2 separate regions of the Homo sapiens genome follow, and region 2 is linked to region 1. The links are contacts of gene promoters, found by promoter capture Hi-C in blood cells and fetal thymus (Javierre and others, 2016). All regions are on one chromosome and are shown on one strand. Each heading gives the region's core, a stretch centred on a gene start or on the middle of the fragment in contact. The rest is flanking DNA. Distances are from core to core; before and after follow the strand shown. Region 1 holds the start of GLUD1 (glutamate dehydrogenase 1). Region 2 has its middle 2.6 kb from the start of EXOC6.

Region 1 (3,280 bases), core at 559-3,058:
GGGGATAATTAAGCTCCAAAGTTAAGTCCTAGAAGTGGGCGGGGTCAATGCAAATTTAGTAAATCTTTAAAAACAACCTTTGTCCCCCCTGCTGGGAACACCAGCACCGCTCAAGTTTTTTCCGGTACAGAGAGGATTTCTAAAAATCCTCATAAGTCAGCGGGCATAACTGAAAGACCACAGAACCAGGTTTACTGAGACATGGGTCTAGCCCAACATCCTCTGTGCTTCTCAGCCAATCCACCTCCAACAAGACTCCTCGCCTCCCTGGGCTCTTTATTCCATATAATTTTTCTTTTTTACAGTAGACAAAAGTGGTTTGTCCTTTCCATTTTATGTTACTAAAGAGGTATGATGCAATGTATTGGGGGGAAAAAAGCTCTTATTTGCTCGAAGAAAGCAATCTGACTACAGAGGCCAAATCTACAGACATTAAATGATTTAAACCACAGGATAACCCAGTGACTACCAAACATTATCTGACCCCTTTCTTCACGTACTATATTTTTCCTGAAGCTCAAATTCAGGGCTAGCCAGGACCAGTACACACCCCCAGAGCTATTTCATTCCATTGGCTGGCTGGCCATCCGCAGCCTACAACCTGTAAATTTACTGTCAGGACGCCAGGTGTTTATTTGTCAGAGATATTACATTGCTTGTGATTTTTTTGTGTTTTTCCTTTTTTTTGGTATAAAACAGAACTTGTCAGAATGGGAAAATTACTTAATTGAAACGATTAACGCGTGATTAGTAAATTCCTTTGGTTAATAAAACTGTCTAGATTTCAAACTTAGAAGCCAAGTCATTTTCTATGTTCGGATATCATCTGTCACTATTGGAACAGGAGTGAACAAATACCAGAAAATAATTTGACAGCTTGCATTTAGGGGAGACTCACAAAAGCCCAAGAACACTGACGAGGCATTATCACACGGGCAGGTCATTCCCTTTCCTAGAAGTGCATTTCGGCAGGACCCGCCGTGTGTGACACAGACACCGGGACCAAAAGGAGACCGGTGCAGCGTCTACTCTGCATGCAAGATCAGCATATACAGAGGCCCGGGGTGACGGCGCGGGGGAGGGGGCAGGCCAATCGCATGATGATTTTAAGGCGGAAAAATCACCATCCACAGAGCCGGCCACATCCGAGGCGGGGTGACCCGGGCGGGGACCCGGCCCGCTCCAGCTGGGCTGGGCTGGGCTGAGCAGCGGCCCCGCACCGGCAGGAGGCCGGAGGGGAGGGCCGCAGGGGAGGCAGGGAGGGCGGGACGGGGCCCGGCCGACGCTCACCTCCCTTGCAGGGCGTGCGGTGCTGGCTGTGCTGGGCCCGGTAGCCTTCGATGACCTCCCAGGAGCCGTCGTCGCGCCGGATGGGGAAGGAGAGACTCAGCACATGGTTGCAGGGCTTGATGATCCGCAGGATGCCGCGCACCCGGTTCCGCTTCTGCTCCTCGCTCTCCCGGGTCCTCAGGTCCTCCACCAGCTTGTCCTCCACGATGCTGGCGCCGCGATCGAAGAAGCCCTCCACCATCTTGAAGAAGTTGGGGTCGTCCTCGCGGTCGGCCACCGCCTCGCTGTAGTGGCGCCGGGCGGCCAATGCCAGCCCCGGCTGCGGGGCGGCGGCGGGCTGTCCCCGGGCCCAGCCCAGCAACGCGGCCGAGTCGGCGGACGCCGAGCCCAGGGCAGCGGGCCCGGCCCGGGACAGCAACAGCGCTTCGCCCAGGTAGCGGTACATGGCCACAAGCGGAGGGGAGGTGCGTGATGGTCGCGAAACAGGCGCGCTTTCTCAGACTCCCCGCGACTAGGGAGGAAGGGTCCCGCGCGGGTTGCCCTTTTAAGCCGCAGCTTCCTGCTTGCCCGGCTGTCCCCTCCCCTCGGGCGCTCGCCACCTAACGGGGAGGACGGACTTCGGGGACAGGGCGCCGCCCAGGGCGCCGGGCCTCCGCCTCCGCCGCGGCCTCCCCGGGCCTCGCTGGCGGCAGCGCGCGCCGGCGGGGCGTCGGGGGCGCGCAGGCGCGGGCGGGCTCGGCGCGCACGCTCGCGCGCCAGTGGGGAAGGGAGGGGAGGGGAGAGGAAGGGCGGGGAGGAGAGTGGAGGGGAACGGACGGGAGGGGCAGGGAGGGGAAGGTCGGGGCGGGTCGGGGCGGGTCGGGGCGGGCCCACGGGCGGCCGGATTTGCCCGGAGGCCGCACCCGCCTCCGGCGGGGCTCTCAGGTATGTGCGCCGCGGGGGTCCCTCAGGGGGGTTGGGGGTAGCCCAGGGAGGTCGGGGTCGGGGGCTGGCCTCTGTAGGGCGCTCAGAGGCCGAGTCCCCCCGAGCGCCGCGTGGGTGAGGCTTGGCGGTCTGGTCGGGGACCGGGTCATGTGAGTCACGGGCGCCCCTCCTTTCCGCCCGCGCGCCCTCGGAACGGGCGGCCCACCCTGGCCTGTCCTCTGGCGGCCTCAGGCCGGGGCCGGGCGTGCAGGGGCTGACACGTGGGCAGGAAAGCGAGGCAGAGCCGCCGCCGCGTAAGGCCGGGCTGAGGGCTCGGCGTCACCAGCCAGGGCTGCAGAGAGCGGCGTGGCACCCGGAGTTGGATTATGCGTGGCTGGCGTGAGCTGGAAGGGAGTCACTCGCCCACAAGCTCTCACCACGCGAGCTTTTATTGTCCCGTTCAACTGCTCCGCAGTGTGGAGATCGCATAGTTACGCACGTCGTGGTTGTGTCGCCCCACAGTACTGACTGCTTCACCTTTGCAGACAGAGGCTCCGGCCCGGCGCGGTGGCTCACGCCTTTAGTCCTAGCACTTTGGGAGGTCGAGGCTGGAGGATGGCTTGAGCCCAGGAGTTCGAGGCTGCAGTGAGCTACGATAGCTCCACTGCACCCCAGCCTGGGCAACAGAGGGAGACCCTATCTCCCTCTGAAATAGTCTAAAATAAGGAAACTAGAAATGCGATAATGCCCCCAGGAAATTCTTTCTCAGGAATATATGTATTTGTTAAATGGTTCAGTATATGATTTATTTTTTATTTTATTTATTTATTTGAGATGGAATCTTGCTCTGTCGCCCAGGCGGGAGTGTAGTGGCACCATCTCGGCTCACTGCAGCTTCCACCTCCCTGGGTTCGTTCTAGCGATTCTCCTGCCTCAGCCTCGGGGTAGCTGGGATTACAGGCCCGCGCCACCACGCCCGGCTAATTTTTGCATTTTTAGTAGAGACGGGGTTTCGCTGTGCTGGCCAGGCTGGTCTCCAACGCCTGACCTCAAGTGATCCGCCCGCCTAGGCCTCCCAGAATGCTGG
Region 2 (3,460 bases), core at 398-2,897, 5.8 Mb after region 1:
CAAGTATTTGCATGTGGATCATTCACTTATTAATTGAGCCTCTACTATATGCAAGGCACTGGGCTGGGCAGTGAACAATACAGGCATCGTCCCTGTGCCTGATGTAGGAGCAGTTCCTGGAAATGGAGACAGACTCAGTGATTTGTTCACCACCATGATATGTGCTTCCAAGGATGAGTGAGCACTGCTCCCAAGGACAACGAAAGGTGCTTGCCTTAAAAGCGCAGGATCCAGAGGGTTCACTAAAATGGGTCTGGAACCAAGAATCCAACCCAAAGACATGTTCCTGTTTCCCTCTCTACAAAAGCAGGAAACATATTTCAGTTGGTTTACATCCACCAAACATGCAGAAAACCCTGATACACAATCAGGTTTTTTTTTAATGATTAGGAAAAAGAACATTTATGTGTCTGGTTTTTATTTTTATTTTATCAAAGAGGAGGCTAAAATGCTGGGCTCTCTGGCTTACTAGCAAATGCCTGATAACCCTAGTCGCCAATGCTAATGTTGATTGAGCTCTAGGCTAAACATAATACATATATTATCTTCTTTAATCCTCACATAATTTGGTGAGCTAGGGATTCTTATTGTCCTTAATTCACACTTGAAGAACGTGAGCCTTAGTCAAGTTAAGTAACTCCCTGAGGCCTGACATCTAGTAAGAGATGAGTTGGAATTTGAATTCAAGTAGTTAAATGCCAGACCAGAGCAGTTGCACTCTACAACCTCATTCTGAGGGAGGCGCTTTCCCAAGACAGGTCATTAGTCTGTAGATAAAAGGCGCAAAGTTAAGTTCCTAATGACTAAGAGTTTATTTACAAGTCAAATCCTTACTTTGCCAATTACTTTTATACTGGACACAAAATGCATCTCCTGTCCTGCTGGTCTTCCTGGTGTATCTTTCTTCTTCCAGGAGTCCTGAAAAGAGATTTTGGATTGATCTCTGGAAGTCAATATCCACTGCCAAAAAATAATTCCACATGCATCTGCAATCTGCCTGTCTGTGCCCTGCTACTCCGCAACCTTCTCAGTGCAGACGTTAAATCATTCACTCCTTGGGGCTGGGCGTGGTGGCTCATGCCTGTAATCCCAGCACTTCAGAAGGCCAAGTCAGGGCAATCACTTTAGGGAAGGAGTGTGAGACCAGCCTGGCCAACATGGTGAAAGCCCATCTCTACTATAAATACAAAAATTAGCTGGATGTGGTGACATGTACCTGTAATCCCAGCTACTCAGGAGACTGAGGCAGGAGAATCGCTTGAAAGCGGGAGGCAGAGGTTGCAGTGAGCCAAGATCGCACCACTGCACTCCAGCCTGGGCAACAGAGAGAGACTCCATCTCAAAAAAAAAAAAAAAAAAAAATCATTTATCCCTTGGATAGGCTTCCCCCACCCCACATTGACATATTTGATATATCTATGTCCATGATTAAAATGTACAGTTAGGGCCGGGGACGGTGGCTCACGCCTGTAATCCCAACACTTTAGGAGGCCGAGGCGGGCAGATCACCTGAGGTCGGGAGTTTGAGACCAGCCTGACCAACATGGAGAAACCCAGTCTCTACTAAAAATACAAAATTAGCTGGGCGTGGTGGCACGTGCCTGTAATCCCAGCTACTCCGGAGGCTGAGGCAGGAGAATCACTTGAACCCAGGAGGCGGAGGTTGCAGTGAGCCAAGATCACGCCATTGTTACCCAGCCTGGGTAACAAAAGCGAAACTCTGTCTCGAAAAAACCAACCAAACAAACAAAACAAATGTGCAATTAGTTATTTAGGACATTTAGCTTTGAATTCTTAGCTAAAACCTCCAGGTACTCACGGAACTGTCAGAAGTCTCAGAGGGAACCAGCAAAAACTGTTTCAGAAGGAGAAGTGGTAAATGGACTTCCTTCCATGTTCACTTGAATTTCGGGGAAGATACTGCTGCTTATGTTGAAGTAATCTCTATGGGCAGGTGTTGAAACAGGGCTGGCCTGAGGAGTGCCTAAGCAGGGCTGGTTTCCCAGAGCAGGGGCACTTGGAGCCAGCTTTGGAATAAAAGGTATCAGGACTGGTGAAGAAAAGGGGTAGAGTTCTAGGGAAGGAATGATCAGGAAAGTAATTCCCCAGCTGGAGACATTGGTCAAATAGGAAACTGGCCTGTGCCACATGCCCTGCTCTCCTCATTTTGCTCATTATCATAGTTCACCGCAGCCTCGAACTCCTGGGCTCAAGCAATCCTCCTGCCTCAGCCTCCCAAAGCTCTGGGATTATAGGTGTGAGCCACTGTGCTCGACCTAAGAAGTTCTTGAGAGGGGAAAATAACCTTTTGAAAATTGAAACTGAAACATAAAAAAAAGAAGACAAATTTTATCCCCTCCCACAAAAAGAATGAAAAGCTAGGTCTCTCTGCAGGAAATGGAAGACTGTCTTAGCTCAATGGATGTGTATAGCTGGAATCCATTGCTCTGAAGATTCCAGATTAATAGGAAGGAGGGCATTAGCAATGTTTTATAGGGCCCTTCCTAAGTTTGGTAGGCAGTGGGTCCCACTGATGCTCACATTCTAATCCCTGGAACCTGTGCATATGTTATTTTTACATGACAAAGGGGGTATTGCATATGTGATTAAGGTTAAGGACCCTGAGATGGAAGATTATCCTGGATTAAATGGTTGGGTCCACTCTAATCATATGGGTCCTTAAAAACTGAGCATCTTTTCCAGCCTAAGTCAGAGTCAGAGGAAGATGTGACCACAGAAGAATGGTCAGAGAGATGTAATGCTGCTAGCTTTGAAGATGGAGGAAGGGGGCCACAAGCCAAGGTATGTGGGTGGCCTCTAGAAGCTGGAAAAGGCAAAGAAACAAATTCTCCCGCAGAGTCTCTAGCAAGGAACACAGACATGCTGACACCTTGATTTTTAGCCCAGTGAGACCTGTGACAGACTTCTAACGTACAGAACTGTAAGATAATATGTCTGAGTCATTTTAAGCTACTCAATTTGTGGTGATTTGTTAAAGCAACAATGGAAAACTCATACACCATGGGACAGCAATATGAGGCAGACACTGCCATTGTCATTTACAGTCATTTAACTGACATATAAAAGAACTAGGTTCTTGCCCAATGTCACACAGCTGTCAAGTGATATTAATCCAAGAATTAATGTCTTCGGACACTGGTCTTCAGAGCTCATGCTCTAACTATTGCACAATACCACCTCCCAGGATGTTTGTGGGGAGGAGGCTGGAGGTAGGTTTCAAGTAAAAGCTCACTAAGGGTGAGTGAGTTACACAGCTGGATAAAGAGCTTGGTTGACTCAAAGGGAAGCTTTTCAAAGCCCTGGATTAATGTAGAGCAGAAAGTAGTTGTTCCTCAGGCTAGGTTTCCATTCTGTTCCTGTTTAGTCTTCCTTCCTCCCTGCTTTGATCATGACAAACTGGTTTACTCAGTGTCCCACAAACATGTCATTAAGCACGACT

What was found. The method cuts DNA at HindIII sites, captures the fragments that hold promoters and counts their contacts. A CHiCAGO score of 5 or more calls a contact.
Region 2: a contact is called between a fragment that was not itself captured here and the fragment with the promoter of GLUD1 in region 1, in 1 of 17 cell types (fetal thymus). The highest score is 8.4, in fetal thymus.

Annotation. Positions count from the first base shown.
Region 1 is chr10:87,093,035-87,096,314 of GRCh38, forward strand. It overlaps GLUD1 (glutamate dehydrogenase 1), which reads right to left and starts at 1,809. Exons shown (of 13, transcript NM_005271.5): 1 at 1,291-1,809. The coding sequence starts at 1,735. It overlaps SHLD2 (shieldin complex subunit 2), which reads left to right and starts at 2,172. Exons shown (of 10, transcript NM_001330112.2): 1 at 2,172-2,214. RefSeq lists enhancers at 1-358, 2,763-2,822 and silencers at 1,043-1,382, 1,583-1,722, 1,843-2,542, 2,463-2,720. The HindIII fragment of the contact is 4,292 bases long and covers 1-3,280 here.
Region 2 is chr10:92,844,212-92,847,671 of GRCh38, forward strand. It overlaps a transcript of EXOC6 not described here. Among named protein-coding and RNA genes, the nearest start is that of EXOC6, 2.6 kb to the right of the region's middle. The HindIII fragment of the contact is 3,318 bases long and covers 1-3,306 here.